Regions from separate parts of the Homo sapiens genome. Here regions 1, 3, 4, 5, 6 and 7 are each linked to region 2. Evidence: promoter capture Hi-C in 16 types of primary human blood cells and fetal thymus (Javierre and others, 2016). All regions are on one chromosome and are shown on one strand. Each heading gives the region's core, a stretch centred on a gene start or on the middle of the fragment in contact. The rest is flanking DNA. Distances are from core to core; before and after follow the strand shown. Region 1 overlaps LSM1 (LSM1 homolog, mRNA degradation associated). Region 2 holds the start of ERLIN2 (ER lipid raft associated 2). Region 3 has its middle 370 kb from the start of LINC01605. Region 4 has its middle 260 kb from the start of LINC01605. Region 5 has its middle 330 kb from the start of LINC01605. Region 6 has its middle 280 kb from the start of LINC01605. Region 7 overlaps BAG4 (BAG cochaperone 4).

Region 1 (2,700 bases), core at 168-2,667, 430 kb after region 2:
TGCCATTCTCCTACCTCAGCCTCCCAAGTAGCTGGGACTACAGGCGCCCGCCACCACACCCGGCTAACTTTTTTGTATTTTAATAGGGATGGGGTTTCACTGTGTTAGCCAGGATGGTCTCGATCTCCTGACCTTGTGATCCGCCCGCCTCAGCCTCCCGAAGTGCTGGGATTACAGGCGTGAGGCACCGCACCTGGCCTTGTTTCAGCCTTTATGCGACACAAGAAGATAACAATTTCTGCTGCTTGGCTGGGCGCGGTGGCTCATGCCTGTAATCCCAGCACACTGGGAGGCCGAGGCGGGTAGATCGCCTGAGGTCAGGAGTTCGAGACCAGCCTGGCCAACATAGTGAAACCCCGTCTCTACTAAAAATACAAAAATTAGCTGGGCTTGGTTGCGGGCACCTGTAATCCCAGCTACTCGGGAGGCTGAGGCAGGAGAATCACTTGAACCTGGGAGGCGGAAGTTGCAGTGAGCTGAGATCATGCCATTGCACTCCAGCCTGGGCAACAGGAGCAAAACTCTGTCCCAAAAAAAAAAAAAAACCCAAAAAACAAAAAACAATTTCTGCTGCTTAAACATGCAAGAAATGATACACTGAACTAAAAGTACAAACTACAAAAATATTTTATAAGAAAAATTTTTATAAGTATTACTTATAAATATTTTATAAGTAAGAAAAAGCTATTTCATATATTTCACAGCATATATTTCATATATTCATATATTTCATATACTTCATATATTTCACTTGGGCAGTATTGATAGTCTGGATTAGTCATTTCTAGCTATTTCCAATATGAGGTCTCTGAACCAACCCAACCCTAGCAGAATTATCTCCTTGCTTTCTCAAATGGCTGTTAAAAATGGCTACAAACCAAACCACTCTAAAGATTTCTGCAAACTGATTTAAGACATGGCTAGGTATTTAGAAAACAGTATTAAAAACTTTAAAAATTAAGCAAACACCAAAGTTTTTGGTAAGAAAAAAGAAGACAGTGCTGGCTCAACCCTTAATTTCAACTACTCTTGAAGAGATTTTTATTTTCCTTGCAAACCCAATAATCAGAAATAACAAGATGAAATCAAAGGTTTTAAATAAGATACTTTAAAAAAAAATCTGAGTACTTCTAGTAGGGGTGTGTGTGTGTATGTCTGCACACACGAAGACCTACAGCAACAATACCTCAGAAAATCTGATTTAACCTTTCACCTGCCAGCTGGTCTTTCTGGCACAGATACCAAAATACCCTCTCCCTGGCTGTGAGCTAAGGATCCAAGTAAGACTGAACTCCATTCTCGGGATAGGTAACGGAAAAGCTTTTCCTATAGCTACTCTTTCCCTTTCCCCCTTTACTAATATGGATATCACATTGTACTGTACAGGCAATATGTACTTCCCTGAAATACTGTGCATTAGCTTTATGCCATGAAAAACCACTTGTAACCAATTGTTTAAATGACTGCAAAATATTCCAACGTATGTAAGACACACCTTCCCCAGCATATATAAATCAAGCTTTGTCAATTTTCTGCTATTAAACAAATATATTAATGAACACATTTGTTAAGGCACTGAAACAAAGTATTCTCTGTAGCTTCCCTAAATTAATTTGGTAGTTGCCTAGGAGAAGCCAGATAAATGTGGAGAATATTTTTATTCTCTTTTGAAAAGACAAAAAAAGAAGTCTAACTAGCATGAATATGAAGATCTACAGCAGCTTAATAGTTTTCACTTACTATTTCTCCTAGTAGGACCACATTTTCTCCTCTGACCACAAAAATCCCTCGAGGAATATCACCGTATTTTTTGCCCACATGAATACGCTCCACAGTCTGATGTAGCACTAAGTTTGCTGTAAGTGTATAGGGAAAAACCAAAGATATTTAGTTTAAACTACTGGGTAAAGGCCCATAACTCAATAATCAGTTATTTTGAAAAGATTTAGGTAAACATGATTTCCAAGCTTTCTAATTATTTTTATTTATTTATTTTTTGAGACCGAGTCTCGCTCTGTCACCCAGGCTGGACTGCAGTGGCGCCATCTCAGCTCACTGCAACCTCTGCCTACTGGTTCAAGCAATTCTCCTGCCTCAGATTCCGGAGTAGCTGGGACTACAGGTGCCTGCCACCACTCCCGGCTAATTCTGTATTTTTAGCAGAGACAGGGATCACCACATTGGCCAGGCTGGTCTTGAACTCCTGGCCTTGTGATCCGCCCACCTCGGCCTTCCAAAGTGCTGGGATTACAGGCGTGAGCCACAGTGCCGGGCCCCCAAGCTTTCTAATTCTGGGGAAGGCTAAAATTTCAAATAATCTTCTCCTATTTCATTGAGTAAGACGTACCAGTTAGGAGATGTCTGGGATTATGTTGGGCTAATACATGAATGACAGCAGAAATAAGAGAAATAAATTCCTTTATCAGTTAATTGCTAATACCAAAAAAAACCATAGGAAAATATAAATGAATAAGGAACTTGGAAAACTTGGGCCTAAACAACCACAGAGATCAAAACTTTTGTTTTCTGGAAAGAAACAGCTTTTCTTTTTGTGTGGGTGTGTATGTGATGATCTGCTGAAGATTCAACTTTCTTTTAGTAATTAGGATTCATTTGACCCAACGCAGGTATCCATGGGTTATGATACAGCAAAAACCTATTTTTTCACCTTGACAGATAACTATATTTGTAATCTAAAAG
Region 2 (2,700 bases), core at 37-2,536:
TTACTGAAGGCTATAATTAAGTGGACTCTTTCTCTCCTGCAAACAAAATATTAATAACCTCAGTGGCTGAATTAGAAATGCCCCAATGTGATGCTGGTGAATAGGGCAGGTGGAGGACAACGTGAGGCCCTTAGACTAGGAGACACAAACTCTGGATTCCGGGCCTGGTCCCACGTTGCCTTCAGTCTGTTTTTACTGGGCACCTAAGCCCCGGGGGTGCGGAAGGAAAGTCAGTCTCTGCTCTCCCGGGAACGTACAGTTTATCTAGAAAGACGAAGTGCACTAGCCCCTGTGCACTGTGGCAGGAGTTTAAAAAGCAGTGAACTCAAGATATTAAGGAAACACAAAGGAAACTTTCCTTGGCTTTTACCCTTGAACCTCGCTGAACTTCTTAGATTCCGTTCATTAAAATTAGAATAATAATTCCTTGTTAATATACTTTGTGGCGTTGCAGGATCCCAAGGGCCAAAGCTCCCAGAAAAATATAAAGAACAACTCAAGGTAGGGATTTTTGATTGGTGAGGTAATGATGCTAATCTGTACATTGAAAAGACTGTTTCATTTCAGCTGTGCTATAGGAAAGCAAACAGTTGCAACTCGCCAGTACCTTATCAAGGAGAGAAAAAAAAAAAGGCCGCGCATGGTGGCTCATGCCTGTAATCCCAGCAGTTTGGGAGGCCGAGGCAGGAGGATTGCTTGAAGCCAGAGTTTGAGACCAGAAATACCAAGACCCTGTCTTTACTAAAAATAAAATTGTCAAGTGTCGTGGCGTGCGCCTGTGGTCCCAGCTACTCAGCAGGGTGAGGTGGGAGGATCGCTTAAGCCCAGGAGTTCGAGGCTGTAGTGAGCTATGATCGTGCCACTGCACTCCAGCCTGGGCAAAAGAGCGAGACCTTGTCTCTAAAAAAACCAAAACGAACCAGGTTCGGCCTAATGCAGAAGGAAATCCGGAGCAATCCCCAAAGTCAACGCCTTGGAAAGGTTCGCCCTGGGTCTCAGTACTCCGGGGCATGCGCGTCCTGCCGCTCGCTCTCGGGGAGCTCCCACCAACACCGCCCTCATCCCCAGCCCCAGGACGGATACCCAAGACCGAGGTCCAGGACCGCACCGACCAAGTCGCGGGCGATCCCTGGCGGCCAGCTACGGCCATTGACCGCTGGGAGCGCGAGGGGCGGGGCGCAGAGCGAGCGCGGGGCGGGGGTGTGGTCTTCTCGCGTGAATTGATGGCGTCATCGAAGCGACGGCCCGGAAGGAAGTCGCGTGCTGAGGGGTGTGACGGTTTTCTTGCTCGTGGGCTCGGACGAGTACGGAGCGCCTGCAGGGACAGCCTGGTACGCGGCCCCCGCCCCTTCGTGCGCGCGCTGGGCCTAGCTGCCGCTCAGGGTCGGGGCTGACCCGTCACTTTCGGGAACCTCAGTCCCAGCAGCTTCTCTCCCTCAGCCGGCCCGCTCCTGGAGAGAGACAGAAACCCTTTTCTGTCGCGTCCTCTCCTTGCGAGCCGCAGGGGGACCGAGCGGAGGCTATTGGAGCCGCAGCCCCAGACCAGGGCGCTTGACCCTCTCTCGGAACGGGGCGGGGAAGGGGCGCGAGTGACCTCGGGGAGGGAAGGGCACTGGCAGGAAAGGACGCAACTGCAGATCGGTAGCCGGAGGCCGCCACGGTAAAATAAGCGCCTCGCAGATGTCCGCGCCCCGGTTACGTTAGACCTGGGAGGCAGAATCCACGCCCTGCGCTCACGGGCCCACGCACGCACAGCTGAACTTTGCAGTCAGTCACCATAGTTCCAGATCATTCAGCGTTCAGGATCCCACTCCTCCGCGTCCTGGTGCCTGAACGCGGTTGGACCTAGGAGCCTAGAGGCTCGCAGTTTGGGACATTGCCTTTCTCTCTGACCACGGGCTTGGGGATCTGTCAGGTGCAAAGTGCCAAAGTATATGGGGGGGAGTGTGGCTTCAGGCTTGTTCAGAGCCCTGTCCTGTTTAGGGCCAAAGGAATAACTGGGAAGGTGGATGCGAGGCCAACGAATCCTACCTTGAAACTCTGCTCGCCTGCTGGCTCTGCCACTCCAGCATCTGAAAGGAGTAAATAATGGTTTCCTTTGAAACTGCAGGCAATTAGGAGTGGGAGACTCTGACCAGAATTACATAGCCACAACTGCCTGTCATTTGGCATCCTCTGTAATTTGGGCCAAAGTACTGCAGCTGCCTCTCTTCCCTACTACTGGTAGGAAAGGTTCAGTGACAGCACATTCGTGTTCACAGGAAGACAAGGCTGTGTTCTGAACCCTACCCAGCTGGCACGGGTTCTCCCTTGAGCAACGGCTGTATCCGGAGCCAGTGCTTCCTCAGTGCGGTGGGGGCTCTAATTTTACAGTTAAAGAAAGGGGAACGTTGACTGAGAACGAGGAGGAAGCGAGTTGTAGATCTAGCCTTGTGTTCACACGACACCAGGCTGGATATGAGTCACTCGCAGGGAGCTCAGCTTGGTGAGGTCCTCTCGCTGTTGTGGCCTTTTCTCCTGCACGTTGGACCACACACATTTTCCCGTGTCTTTTCCCTAGGATAAAGGCTCACTGATGGCTCAGTTGGGAGCAGTTGTGGCTGTGGCTTCCAGTTTCTTTTGTGCATCTCTCTTCTCAGCTGTGCACAAGATAGAAGAGGGACATATTGGGGTATATTACAGGTAAGGCAGAGACAGGGA
Region 3 (2,700 bases), core at 74-2,573, 510 kb before region 2:
GGATTATTGGGAACATGAGAAAAGGGAAAAGGCATCCCATTTTTCATGGATAGAGTGATTAATATTATAACAATACCAGTTTTAACCAAATTAATCTAAATTCAAAGCAACCTCAAATAATATTTCAGCAGAACTGTTGTCAAAGAAATAGCCTTATTTTTAAACTCTGTAGAAAAATAAGAGTTCATAGATAGCTAAGTCAGTTTTGATAACAAAAAGAACATTTAAAATATGTGTTACAATAGAAACAATAGGCCAATAGAATCCTGGGAAGCAATAAAGGGTTCAAAAAAATGCTTATGTGCACACAGAAACACAGTATATCCGAGAATGTTACCGCAAACCAGTGGGAAAAAATGGATTTTTAAATAGATGTTATTGGGAAATTACTACACTCTATGCATGGAAAGAAGCTGTTAGATACAATAAAATATCTATATAAAGTAAAGATCTAAATAGGAAAGATGGAACTACAAATATAATTTTTAAATAAAAGAGAACATTGTTTGCGATGTGGGGTGAGCCTTATTTTAAAATAAGGCTCCAAACACACAAATCATAATGTAAAAATATTTTCTGAATTCAAGTGCAATATTTCTATTTCATGAAAAATGTTATAGACAAAATAAGAAATAGGGAGGGGAAAGGATAAATGTTCGATGTTAAAAGCTAGGAAACAAGTTATTCCCTAGAATATACCAGCAATTTTCACAAATCAACTAGAATATAGGAACCCAATATGCAAATGGAAAAGGGTTTAAGTAGGCAATTCACAGAGGGGAACTCCCAATGGCTGGCATATACAGAGATAGTCAGATAACTGTGTCGGATAACAATCAGATGACTGTAAACTAAAATAACAGCGAGAGACCACTTTTTGACCACCCAAATGTCCAAAATTTAAAAATTGGGTAATCAATGTTGGAAAGATATGGAGACACACAAACCCTCGTGCATTTTTGGTGGACATGTAACACTGGCATCTATTATGGAGAACAATATGGCAGTATTTAGCAAAAGTAAAAATGCATGTACCCTAAAATCCGGTAGTTCTTCTGCATTTTAATCATATAAGTAAAAAGCAGCAGGAAATTTCGGACAACTTAAAGAGTTCACCGTTCGGGAATTGGACTGAAGTGATGAATGTATACCTACTGTGGAATACTGTGCATCAGTTAAGAGCAATGGACTTTAGGTACACAGTAATACAAACAAATCTTTTAATACAAAGTGTTGACTCTCACTTCTGGATGGAATAGAGCAGTTAGGGACAGGGCACACTCCTGCAGAGAACAACTGGATCAACCAAAATGATCAACACAGACAATGCCAAGTTCTGGTGGTATCACTTTGAAAACATTTTGGTGATATTTAACAACAATTGCACTCCCAGGTATGTACTCAACATGTGTGTCCACCACAAGAATCTGTAACATTGTTCATAGCAACACTCATTATAATTGCCCTAAACTAGAAACAACTCACATACTTATCAAGAATAGAATGAATAAATACATTTTGGTATATTCATACAATTGAATACTACACTGCAATGAGAATAAATAAACAGTTTGAATTAATCTCACAAATATAATGTTCAGTGAGATACGTCAAATAGCAAAGATAGCAAAAGCAAAATTTTATTTCTGTGGAATTCAAAAGCAGGCAAAATTAATCTATAATGTTAAAACCTAGAATCATGGTTTCCGTTGGCAGGCGAAAGTCTCCAATTAGAAGGGGATGGAGGAGTGGTCTGGGGTTCAGATCATACTCTGGTTCTTTATCTAGTTGCTGGTGAACTTTCTTAACTTTGTGAAAATTCACTGAGCTGTGCCCTTTGAATTTGGGCAATTTTCTTTATGTGTATTATATTACAATAACAATTTACATAATAAAAAACACAGTGCTGAGTGGCATACTAAGAAACAGAATTAATTCAACTCTATAAACCTAAAGCTATTTAAAGAAACAAAAATGAAAGACCAAGGAATAAGAGAGGAAGGAAGGAAGAGAGGAAAGAAGAGAGGAAGAGAGGAAGGGAAGAAAGGAGGAAAGAAGGAAGGAAGGGAGGAAGGAGGTGGGGGGGAGAAAGGAGAGGAGAGGAGAGGAGGAAAGGGAGGGAGAGAGGAAGGGAAGGAGAAAGGAGAGAGGGAGGAAGAAAGGAAAGAAAGAAGGGAGGGAGGGTGAGAGAAAGGAGAGAGGAAGGAAGAAAGGGAGGGAGGGAAGGAGGGAAGGAGAAAAAAGGAAAGGAAGAGAAAGAAGAAAGAAAAAAAGGGGGAACAGAAAAAGACCCCAGCACATTTGACTTACAATGGCTATTTTAGTCTGCAGAGTCTTCTATCCAAGAGTTATTTGACTACATCTTTTAAAAAGCTGGGGATGGGAGGAAGGTCAGAAGGGGAGTGTTGCTTGGTTTTTCTACAATTGATACAGCAATGTAGGCCTTGTGGACTCATTGCTGGATGCAGGCATGTCATTTTTCATCACAAACCTCATATCCCTTTCTTAGTGCATAGTGGGAAACAGAGTCTCATTTAGCATGAAATGGCCTGCCGCAGGCTAAAGAGTCATTGATTCCCAGAAAATACACTTCGTTTTGGGTGTTCTGATTTTTGGTCATGGTTCTGTTTTATTCCCTTTGACCTGGAAGACTTAATGGATATCAAAAAGCTTCCCAGACAGGCCAAAGCTGCATTTTGA
Region 4 (2,700 bases), core at 70-2,569, 400 kb before region 2:
TTGCCAAGACGGTTGGATCACCTCATTCTTTAGTGCAAGATGAGGTCCTAAGCTCTAACCAGCCCCCATGAAAACTTACAAAAAAAAAAAAAAAACCTTTAATTAGGGAAATGAGCACAAGAGAATCAACTCAACAAAAGTATGGGCACCGGATGTATGCCCAGCACTGCACCAGGCCTTGGAGAGGCAGAGTTTCTGCCCTCAAGGAGGTCACTGTGCAGGAGCCCGATGCTGGATACCCACAAGTGCAATGTAAGGGCTGTAATAAATGTGTACAGTGAGCGTAAGCACGGAGGAGGGGCTCTGTTTTCAGTGTGTGTTCCCCAGAAACAGACTCCAAAGCAAAGCTTCAGGTACAAATAGATCATTCGAAGTAAACTGAAAAACCACTGATAGCGGAGTGACAAAGTGACCCAGGGGAGGGAAGGAAGCCAGGCAGGGTTCATTGTCACCAGTTGCTACACCAGATGGGGGAGCTCAGCTCCACGGGAGACCTCTCTGGGCTATCTTGCCTCAGAAATATCCTGTCCAGGGGTGGGGAACCAACAGTCATTGGTAGAGGGGTCTCCTAGGGAGGTAACCCACAACATTTTCAACCTGTCCCATGCAAGGGCAGAGTGAGCAGACAGAGAAAGCCTTCAGGTAGAGTAGCTGGTGCTGGCCGTTAGAAGTCACACTGCCAGTGCAAACATTGTAAATGCCACAGGGACTCGGGTGCAGCACCCATGACAGCTGCTATAGACACGTGTGTTCCACCTAAAGTGAGGAGGAGGTCAGGAGGCTCCAAAGGAGTGTGGACATTTGAGCTGGGCCTTGGCAGATGCACCAGTGATGGCTAGGCAGAGATGTGCAGAGGGCATCAGGGAGGGAGGACATTTGTTCCAAAGTAAAGGGAAAGTGTGAACAAAGCAACAAAGCCTGGGAAGTGCATGATTTGTTTCAACACCTTCAGATGGCATGGGATTCTAGCTGTTGTGTAGACAGAAGGTCCAGCCAGGCAGCTGGAGAGTCTCAGAGAGGCAGACTAGGGCCGGACTGTGAAGACCTTGGCATCTCCTGCAGACACACAGGGAGACATCGTGGCTTTTAAATAAGAGAGAGACACGGACACAGGGAAGTCTTCACGAACTTGCTAGTCCCATGCCAGTCAGGACAGGCCGTGAGGACTTCACGTGTTCTCTGCAGGGCCTGGTACATTGAGGGGAAAGAGTGATATCAATGCAAGGCTCGAGTGTGGTGGGTGAACACATGGACTCAGTAGCACTAATGAAACTAACTCCTCATAAAACAAACAGCCAACAGAAGCATTTAAAAGAATGAAAATAAAAAGGACTTTCCAAATTGATGGTGTGCATCAGGGTGTGTGGGACCCCACACTCCTGGCCTGCAACAGGCTCTTATTTCAAGGCACGCTGGACTTGTCCCCATGGGAATATCTGCTGGGCCAAGCTGATCAGAGCATGTCTTCTCTGTCTGCAGTCACCACCACCTGAGACCCAAGAGCTGGCATCAGTACCCATGCTCCTGGATTCAGACTACCTACCTTTGCAGGGGGTAGTGGTACAGGGACAAGAAATTCCCTGTCGCTGTTTTTAAAAAGTTTGGCCTATGGTTTTGTATATCATCAGAGCAAATTGAGTTAAGGAAAGAAAAAGGAATTGAAGGTTTACCCAATGCTGACGCATACCCATTTTCATTCATTCTAGCCAATCTTGGACATTACTGATGTATTACTGAGATTTCATTCCAGTTGCTCCATTGTAAAGCCAGTTGGCTAGAGGCTTTATTGAGATAACACCCTCACAACTGCTATCACAAAGTTCTAAGTAGGACTACCAATTTCAAAATAGAAACCAGCAAATGAAGTTATTAGAGATCAGGTCTGGCCCTGAAGGCTTCTCTACAAAGGAGGCCTGTGGTAGGCAGACTTCTAAGAGGACGCCTACTGATCTTCACCTCCTGGTATGCACTTCCTTGTAAAATCTCTCCCCCTTGAGTGTGATATGGATCTAGTGACTCACTTCTAATGAACAGAATACAGCAAAAGTGATGGGTTGTCTCTTCAGAGATTAGATTACAAAAGGCTGTGAGTTCTGTCTCATATTCACTTGCTCTCTCTCTCTCTCTCTCTCTTTGATGAAGCAAGCCACCATGTGGTGAGCTGCCCTACTGAGAAGCTCACATAGCAAGGAGGGCAGCCTCCAGCCTGCAGCCACTGAGAAACTGAGGTCCACAGGGACTGAACCCTGCCAATAACCTCTTGATGAGCTTGGAAGTCAATCCACCCCCAGTTAAGCTTGGAGATGACTGCAGGCCCAGCCATCACCTTGACTACAGCCTCACGGCCAACCCAGAAGCAGAGAGCCCGGCTAAGTGATGGCCAGGTTCCTGACTCACAGAAACTATGAGATAATAAATGTGATTTGTTTTAAGTCACTAAGTTTTGGGGTAACTTATTACATCACAATAGATAAAAATGTTCATTGTCATTTTCTAATATTATTTTCAAGACATTTCTATTATATTTTGTAGTATGTCTATTATTATTTTCTAATATTATTTTCTAGACATATTTTCCATAACTGTTTTCTAGACATATTTTCTAATTTATTTATTAGAAGAGACAATGAAGGGAGACACACTCAGAAAGATTAAGACCAAGAGAAGGTTGAAAGTCTTGCCGTTGGTATAATACATCTT
Region 5 (2,700 bases), core at 17-2,516, 470 kb before region 2:
GTGTACCAGGAGTTAATTTAAAACTACACAAGACATCTGAGGCTGGACAATCAATCACTTCATCATTGCCACTGCAGATAAAGAGAGTGGCGAGACAGGAGGAAGGATGGAGGAGCACATAAGAGAGAGCGATAAACTCCCTGCCTCCGAATCAGCCTCAGAGAAACAAGCCATACTCCTTTGGTGCTCATGGGCCTCTGTGTGCAGGAACTGGAGAATGAAGAAGAAGGCTGAAACAGAAACTAAGCTTCCTCCAAGAGAAGCCCAGGGCTGTCCCAAACATCGGGTGTGCTGGGAAAGACTGGAAGCTGAAAGGGGTCTAGAAGATGTTGGGTTGGAAAAGGACTTCATTCTGCATGCAAAGGATGCTCAAGAAGTCACTGAGTGTCTCTGTTCACTGAGCTAACCAGCAAGCTCTATGTGCATGATTCTGGGCTATTTCCTTATAGCTGGAGCAGCAGTGGGCATAGCAGGGTCTCAGGAGTCAGGAGGATCCCCACTGTCACCCTGGCTGGACTGGACCGTGGCTCACTCCTCCTAGAGGGATATCAAGCCCAGCCTCTGGCAAGGAGACTGCAGTCTGTCAACTCTGAGTGGCATCCGTGGAGTGCCACGTTCCAGCGTCCCGTGTCCTCTGCATAAATGCAATTTCCCCAAATGTCAGGAGAAAAGCATTACGGATAACACATTGTGTGTGTCTTTGACCCAGTAAGTGCTGAAATCACAGATCTCATTATTCTGACATGATAGAATTTTCTCTTTCTCTCTCCCAGCACAGGCTGACTGCTGTTGTTTTTCATACTGCAGACCTAATTGCCAAAGGTGCAAAGCCACCACAGAAAAACAGGCCTCACCTATTTCCTACCCCCAAAACAAAATGCCAGGTCTCCTTGTATGAGAAGAAAATGATCTTAAAGTCAGCTCATAACAGGACATTAAGTTGTGGATAATTTGGGCCACAGCTTTCCTGGATGCCTGAAAAATAGACAGTATTTGACATTGAAAGCAGAATCGCCCTGGATGACTCCACCAGCACATCTGACTTCCAGTGCAGGAGCTGTCTGAGATTTAGGGTAGGGGCAAGAGCAATGAATGAATTTGAGAGCTAGGTCTATTCTGTCTATCTGTGCAGTCATACTCAAGTTGTTAATTCCCCTCAGTTAGTCTTCTCATCTATAAAAATAAAGGATTAAAGCTGTGTCATAGGATGGATGTGAGAAATAAAGACATGGTGATGCATATATGGTGTCTGGCAAAGAATCGGTGCTAAAAACATTTATTACAGTTAAATCTAGAGTTCCACTTTAGGGATGTAGTCAATATATCATCCATTCAATCAACAAACAAACAAGTGTTTACTGAGTGCCCTGATCTTGAAGACAGAAGACATGGGCTCACTAAGTATTCGTTGAATGAGTGAATTGCTTCTCATTTATCATGAGGGGACTCTGGACAAGTCCAATTCTTTCTCTGACTGTTTCACAGCCTATCAAATGCAAGGTATGTAGGAATCACCTTGAAACAGCCTTCTGGTTTTGAGACTCCGTTGCTCGAGAGGGCCTGTATGAAAGCACAAAGAGGTACAGTACAAGACAGAGTGGCAGCTCTCCCAAGCCTTATGATGTAGTTAACAGGGTGTATCAGATACATCTCCATGAAGGTAGCAAATAAATTGAGAGCTAGGTCTATTCTGTCTATCTGTGCAGTCAGAGGTGGTATGTGAGGGGTGCAGCTAAGGGGCAAGTGCTACAGGTGTTCAGAAGAGAAAGAGGGCTGGTGTTTGGAGGAAGCGAGGTCAAGCCTGCACCTTGGAGGTATGATGGGATTGTATTGGCAGCAAGAAGGCCAAAGGCATTCCAGGGCAAGTTGTACTGACCTTCACAGCTCAAGCGGGAATGGTTACATTGAAATCTCAGTGAAGTTCAATTCAAGTTAGAAGTTAAATCATAGGATACAAGTGCCGGTTATTAAAAGGCAGAACTGCATAACAAGCATCCCCAACCTGTTGTGGGCTTCCTACCAGGCCTTCTTTTAGCCCTCCATCTTGCCAGGCCATCACCCAAAATGCCAGTGAGAACTTGTCCCTCCTCACTTCCCCACCTGGCTTCTCCATCACCTCTTCATGGAGTCTTTCTGAAAAGTCACTGCCCCATGTTTGTCTCTTCTCTTGCTCACCTTCCTCTACAGGCTTAAAGGGAGACCCAGGAAGCAATGACACCTGGAAGGTTCTGTTTGGTCTTACTCCCTTCTTGGATTGTTGAACTACAAATGCCACATTTTCTCCTTCAAGCTTGGTCTTGCCTTCCTCTTTCTACCATAGAAACAGGCAACAATACATAAATTGAGTTTTTCTGGTAATAAAAAAATACACTTTTACATTCATTGTAAATTTTGGAAAGTATAGGCAAGTATAAAGAAAGTAATAAACACCAGTGTCAAGCATAGATGATAAATAGACAGATGATAGGTAAATGATAGATAGATAGATAGATAGATAGATAGATAGATAGATAGATGATAGAATGATAGATAATAGATATTCAAAACTGGATATATAGCTTTGTATTTTGTTTGTGTGTTTATTTCCACTTAAGATCCCAATATGAGCATTTTCCCATACCCTTAAAACATTATTTGAAAACAATGGTTTTTAATGGTTTTTATTATCATCATTAATGGAATAACGATAGTATTCCATTG
Region 6 (2,700 bases), core at 102-2,601, 420 kb before region 2:
AGGACTTTGGGAGGCCGAGGCGGCCGGATCACCTGAGGTCAGGAGTTTGAGACCAGCCTGGCCAACAAGGTGAAACCCCGTCTCTACTAAAAATGCAAAAATTAGCCAGGTGTTGTTGTGGGCATCTTTAATCCCAGCTACACGGGAAGCTAAGCCACAAGAATCACTTGAACCTGCGAGGCGGAGGTTGCAGAGAGCTGAGATCGCACCACTGCACTCCAGCCTGGGAGACAGAGTGAGACCTTGTCTGCAAATAAATAAATAAATAAAAATAAAAAATAAAAAAAAAAGATACTACTCGAGACTGGGTAATTTATAAAGGAAAGAGGTTTCATTGACTCAGTTCTGCATGGCTGGGAAGGCCTCAAGAAACTTAAAATCATGACAGAAAGGGAAGCAGTTATGTCTTACATGACGGTAGGAGACACAGGAGAAAGTGAAGGGGAAAGAGCTCCTTATAAAACCATCAGATCTCGTGACAGCTCAGTCACTATCATGAGAACAGCATGGGGAAAACCAACCCTGTGATCCAATCATCTCCCTTCTTTGACACGTGGGGATTACAAGTCCCTCCCTCCACATGTGGGGATTACAATTCAAGATGAGATTTGGGTGGGGACACAGAGCCAAGCCATATCACCTAACAAAGGTTTGTTTCCCCAAAAGTCTCAAGCCAAACTCAGTGAAGAACTGGACATAAGAACAGTGGGAGACTCTGCATACATTCTGTGTCTAGCTGAGCACAGCAGCTATAAAGAAGAAAGTTCTATTTCCTCAGGTGGCGAAGCATGGTGGAGCTGGGCCTCCCACTGGACTGGGGTCTGTGCCCCTTGAGGATAAAGGAGAGAATCAAGCTCAGTGGGAAAATGGGAACATTGAAATCAAACCTCACCAGCTGCACAGGTTTCCTAGGGCTGAGATTGCCTTTACTGATTATAGAAACTTCGTCAAACTTTGTATAAACAGAAATGCACAATAGGAAGAGATGCATTTTTCATGGGCCACAGTTTGCAGTCCCCCCAGGAAGTGCTTCCTACACTTAGGGCCACGAGTCGTTGACATAGACCCAGATTCTCTCCCCTGCAGCTCCTCTTTGCTGGGGAAGGTTGGGATCAGCCCCATGATGCTTGCTACCAGAAATACATGGTGACCAGCAGGGAAAGTGGATAGTAGCTCAAGAGGACACACCTGTCTGCTCCTTCAGCTCTTCCCTCCTGAGTCAAGAGGAATCAGAAACATCCACTCCAAGGGGAAGAACCTGTAACTGGATCAGCTACTGTGCTTTCAAAAGAGCTTAGCCGCTGGGCACATGTGACCAGGGAGCATTTGCAATGTGGCTAGTCAGAAATGAGGCACACGATAAGTGGAAAATGCACACTGGATTTTGAATACTATGCACAAAAAAAATGTAAAATATCTCATTGATTTTTATATTACTTTTTTCATATTGCTTGTATTTTAAATATATCAGGTTAAATAAAATTTGTTATTCAGAGTAATTTCACTTCTTTATTTTTACTTTTTTATAATGTGGCTCCTAAATAATTTAAAACTGCACATGGGGCCTGCATTATATTTCTATTGGACAGCCCTGAACTGGAGGATAAACATCAATGAAGGAAACAGACAAGGACTGCCAGGTCATTCCACTCTGAGCACGCCATGTATGGAAAGTACTTAATGACAAGTGTGCCTCATTTTATTCAGCAAACTTGAAGGTCAACATAAAGAAATGGGAAGACAGTAGGCCTAAGCACCAAGAGTCCAGGCCCGGGAACTCCACCAGCCAGATGTGGGCCAGGAGTGGGAGTCAAACCAAAGCACAGCCTCCAATTAGCCCATCATCTCCCACTTCTTCCTCTCAGAAGATCTGGACTTTCCTGATGCAAAAGACCCCACGGCCAGCATTTCCTATCCAATCCCCACCGATGGCTGTTGTAGGCTTCTGAAAAATCAGAACAGGTTAAGTTGCTCAGACTCAACCTTTGGGGTCCTTTCTGGATATAGTGGGAAATGTGGGATTTGTGGTTGGACAAATCTGGAGTCAGATTTCAGTTCTGCTGTTGACAAGTCCCACGTGCTTAGACAAGAAACTAAACCTCTCTGAGTTGTCATTTCTTCCTATGTAAACTAGGTATTAGGATGGTGCAAAAGTAATTGCAGATTTTGCCATTACCTTTAATAAAATAATTTATTTTATTGTATTAAATTTTTGAACTTTAATAAATTTATTTTATTAGATTATTAATAAAAGAAATTATTTTATTTGATTATTAATAGAAATTATTTATTTTATTTGATTATTAATAAAATAATTTATTTTATTTGATTATTAATAAAATAAATAATTTATTTTATTTGATTATTAATAAAATAAATAATTTATTTTATTTGATTATTAATAAAATAAATTATTTGTTTTATTTGATTATTAATAAAATAAATTATTTGATTATTAATAAAATAAATAATTTTATTTGATTATTAATAAAATAAATAATTTATTTTATTTGATTATTAATAAAATAAATAATTTTATTTGATTACTAATAAAATAAATAATTTATTTGATTTGATTATTAATAAAATAAATTATTTATTTTACTATTGTTTATTGATTCTATATATTTATACATTTATTTTATTAATAAAATTAATCAAATAATTTATTTTACTATTGTTTATTTTCTATATATATTT
Region 7 (2,700 bases), core at 93-2,592, 450 kb after region 2:
TAATCCCAGCAATTTGGGAGGCCAAGGTGGGCAGATCACAAGGTCAGGAGATCGAGACCATTCTGGCTAACATGGTGAAACCTTGTCTGTACTAAAAATACAAAAAAAAAAAAAAAAAAAAATTAGCCGGGCGTGGTGGCGGGCGCCTGTAGTCCCAGCTACTTGGGAGGCTGAGGCAGGAGAATGGCATGAACCCGGGAGGCGGAGCTTGCAGTGAGCCGAGATCGTGCCACTGCACTCCAGCCTGGGTGATAGAGTGAGACTCCGTCTCAAAAAAAAAAAAAAAAAAAAAAGGAAGAAGAAGAAGTGTATTGTTAGCCCAAGAGTAACTGCTAAAGAAAAAAAAAGTATAATCATTAAGTTATAATGCTACATTTGAAAATATTCACTTAATGCAAAAGAAAGCAGTAAAGGTGGAATAAAGGACAAAAACACATGAGACATATAAAAAACAAAAAGTAAAAATAAAACATGTAAATCCAGCTATATCAATAATATTAAATGTGCATGGATTAAGCAATCTAGTCAGAAGACAGACTGGATTAAAAAAAAAACAAGATCCAATTATATGGTGTCTAAAGGTGGCACACTTAAGGTTTAAAGATACAAATAGTTTGAAAGTAAATGGATGGAAAAAGAAATATAATGCAATAAAGAAAAGATAAATGTTTGAGGTGTCAGATATGCCAGTTACCCTGTTTTGATCATTACACTTTATATACATGTATCAAAATATCACATGTATCCCAAAAATATGTACTACTTTTATTAATTAAAAATTACATATATGCACATATAAATACATATATATACGTGTATACACATATATATATGCATGTATACATATATATACATGTACACATATATATACATATATACATGTATACATATATACATGTATACATATACATGTATACATATATACATGTATACATATATATGTATATATATATAAAAATATGCAAAAGGCAACTATGAGAAAGCTGGAGTGGCTACTTTAATATCAGCTTTTTATTTACTTTTTATTTATTTATTTGTTTATCTTTGAGATGGAGCCTTGCTCTGTCACCCAGGCTGGAGTGCAGTGGCACGATCTTGGCTCACTGCAACCTCCGCCTCCCAGGTTCAAGCAATTTTCCTGCCTCAACCTCCCAAGTAGCTAGGACTACGGGTGTGTGCCACCATGCCCGGCTAATTTTTTTTTTTTTTTTGAGATGGAGTCTCACCCTGTTGCCCAGGCTGGAGTGCAGTGGTGCAATCTCAGTTCACTACACCTCTGCTTCCTGGGTTCAAGCAATTCTCGTGCCTCAGCCTCCTGAGTAGCTGCCCGCCACCACACCCAGCTCATTTTTGTATTTTATTAGAGACGAGGTTTCACCATGTGGGCCCGGCCGGTCTTGAACTCCTGACCTCAAGTGACCCACCCACCTCGGCCTCCCAAAGTGTTGGGATTACAGACGTAAGCCACCATGCCAGGCCTGAATTATATACTTTAAATAGGTGAATTGGATGGTAGTGAGTAAAACTTGAAAATAAGAATACCAGTTTTATGAGTAACAACTAATGGATGCAGTTTCGGTTTCTTTGCAGTTCAGCTTGTCCTTAGAGAATAAATTCCACTGAGGACGTACAGTCAAAATAACGTGAGCTAAAAGTCATTTGAAGTAATTCTTTTTTCTCTGTGGTTATGTTACCAACTTGATTGTTAGTTATTGCATTAATTGACTTTTCCTATACTGAAACAACAATTCCAGAATTTTAGTAGCTTATAATGATAAACATTTATTTCTTGCTCAGGTTCTGTGAGTCCACTCTAGTGGTTCTTCTCTAGGCCCCAGGTTCAGTTCAGGTCTACCTGTGTGTCTTCTCATCCTGGGACTTCAGTTGAAAACACAGCTCCCATATAAGATAATGTAGGTCTTGTGGAGGGCATGGGAACACAAGAGGGTTGCTAGAATTTGCAGCGACTCCTAAATCCTTTGTGTGGACTGGCACACTGTCACTTTTATCCATATTTGTTTGTTTTGCATAAAAGGTTAAATTACGTTTTGTTGTTGTTGTTGTTGTTTTGAGACGGAGTCTCCCTCTGTTGCCCAGGCTGGAGTGCAGTGGCGTGATCTAGGCTTGCTGCAAGCTCCGCCTCCCAGGTAGCTGGGACTACAGGCGCCCGCCACCACACCTGGCTAATTTTTTGTATTTTTAGTAGAGATGGGGTTTCACCGTGTTAGCTAGGATGGTCTCTATCTCCTGACCTCGTGATCCACCTGCCTTGGCCTCCCAAAGTGCTGGGATTACAGGTGTGAGCCGCTGCACCCAGCCAAATTATGTTTTTTACTTATGTGAGTTTGTAATGACACCACCACATTCACTATCCCCCAGTTCTTCCTCATTTTGCCCCATTCCATATTTTATCTTTCCTTGTCCTCGTGACAATATCGGTTCCCAATAACACTACTGTATGTATTTATTCTATTCTACAATACACACAATATAGTTTAAAAATTAAGATAGTAATATCACTACTAATAACATTATATGAAGAGTTTAAGATATTTTTAAATTTCTTTTGCTTTTAGAAAGGTACCACTAAAGATGTCCATTCAGAAAACTGTTCAAGAATTATTTGAATTATATTCTGTGTGTGGTTATCAAGTCAGTAGGTTTTTTCTTTTTAAAGATGGGGTCTTACTCTGTTGCCCA

What was found. Contacts are between HindIII fragments. The CHiCAGO score rates a contact against its expected background, and 5 or more counts as called.
Region 1: a fragment that was not itself captured here is called in contact with the fragment with the promoter of ERLIN2 in region 2 in 3 of 17 cell types (activated CD4 T cells, neutrophils and total B cells); the score reaches 5.9 in activated CD4 T cells.
Region 3: a fragment that was not itself captured here is called in contact with the fragment with the promoter of ERLIN2 in region 2 in 2 of 17 cell types (M2 macrophages and M0 macrophages); the score reaches 5.3 in M2 macrophages.
Region 4: a contact is called between a fragment that was not itself captured here and the fragment with the promoter of ERLIN2 in region 2, in 3 of 17 cell types (M0 macrophages, M2 macrophages and M1 macrophages). The highest score is 5.7, in M0 macrophages.
Region 5: a contact is called between a fragment that was not itself captured here and the fragment with the promoter of ERLIN2 in region 2, in 2 of 17 cell types (naive CD4 T cells and non-activated CD4 T cells). The highest score is 5.5, in naive CD4 T cells.
Region 6: a contact is called between a fragment that was not itself captured here and the fragment with the promoter of ERLIN2 in region 2, in 1 of 17 cell types (M2 macrophages). The highest score is 6.2, in M2 macrophages.
Region 7: a fragment that was not itself captured here is called in contact with the fragment with the promoter of ERLIN2 in region 2 in 1 of 17 cell types (neutrophils); the score reaches 5.7 in neutrophils.

Annotation. Positions count from the first base shown.
Region 1 is chr8:38,168,062-38,170,761 of GRCh38, forward strand. LSM1 (LSM1 homolog, mRNA degradation associated) reads right to left here. Exons shown (of 4, transcript NM_014462.3): 3 at 1,741-1,856. Among named protein-coding and RNA genes, the nearest start is that of LSM1, 7.1 kb to the right of the region's middle. The HindIII fragment of the contact is 199 bases long and covers 1,319-1,517 here.
Region 2 is chr8:37,735,348-37,738,047 of GRCh38, forward strand. It overlaps ERLIN2 (ER lipid raft associated 2), which reads left to right and starts at 1,287. Exons shown (of 12, transcript NM_007175.8): 1 at 1,287-1,331; 2 at 2,561-2,682. The coding sequence starts at 2,576. LOC102723701 (a long non-coding RNA gene) reads right to left here and starts at 2,079. Exons shown (of 2, transcript NR_125821.1): 1 at 2,032-2,079; 2 at 1-1,451. RefSeq lists enhancers at 1,160-1,369, 1,849-2,641. The HindIII fragment of the contact is 8,102 bases long and covers 1-2,700 here.
Region 3 is chr8:37,229,489-37,232,188 of GRCh38, forward strand. No RefSeq gene overlaps it. Among named protein-coding and RNA genes, the nearest start is that of LINC01605, 370 kb to the right of the region's middle. The HindIII fragment of the contact is 2,690 bases long and covers 1-2,668 here.
Region 4 is chr8:37,334,821-37,337,520 of GRCh38, forward strand. No RefSeq gene overlaps it. Among named protein-coding and RNA genes, the nearest start is that of LINC01605, 260 kb to the right of the region's middle. The HindIII fragment of the contact is 1,949 bases long and covers 346-2,294 here.
Region 5 is chr8:37,270,138-37,272,837 of GRCh38, forward strand. No RefSeq gene overlaps it. Among named protein-coding and RNA genes, the nearest start is that of LINC01605, 330 kb to the right of the region's middle. The HindIII fragment of the contact is 2,043 bases long and covers 246-2,288 here.
Region 6 is chr8:37,314,936-37,317,635 of GRCh38, forward strand. No RefSeq gene overlaps it. Among named protein-coding and RNA genes, the nearest start is that of LINC01605, 280 kb to the right of the region's middle. The HindIII fragment of the contact is 3,626 bases long and covers 1-2,700 here.
Region 7 is chr8:38,187,766-38,190,465 of GRCh38, forward strand. All of the region lies in intron 1 of BAG4 (BAG cochaperone 4), which reads left to right. Among named protein-coding and RNA genes, the nearest start is that of BAG4, 12 kb to the left of the region's middle. The HindIII fragment of the contact is 4,700 bases long and covers 1-2,700 here.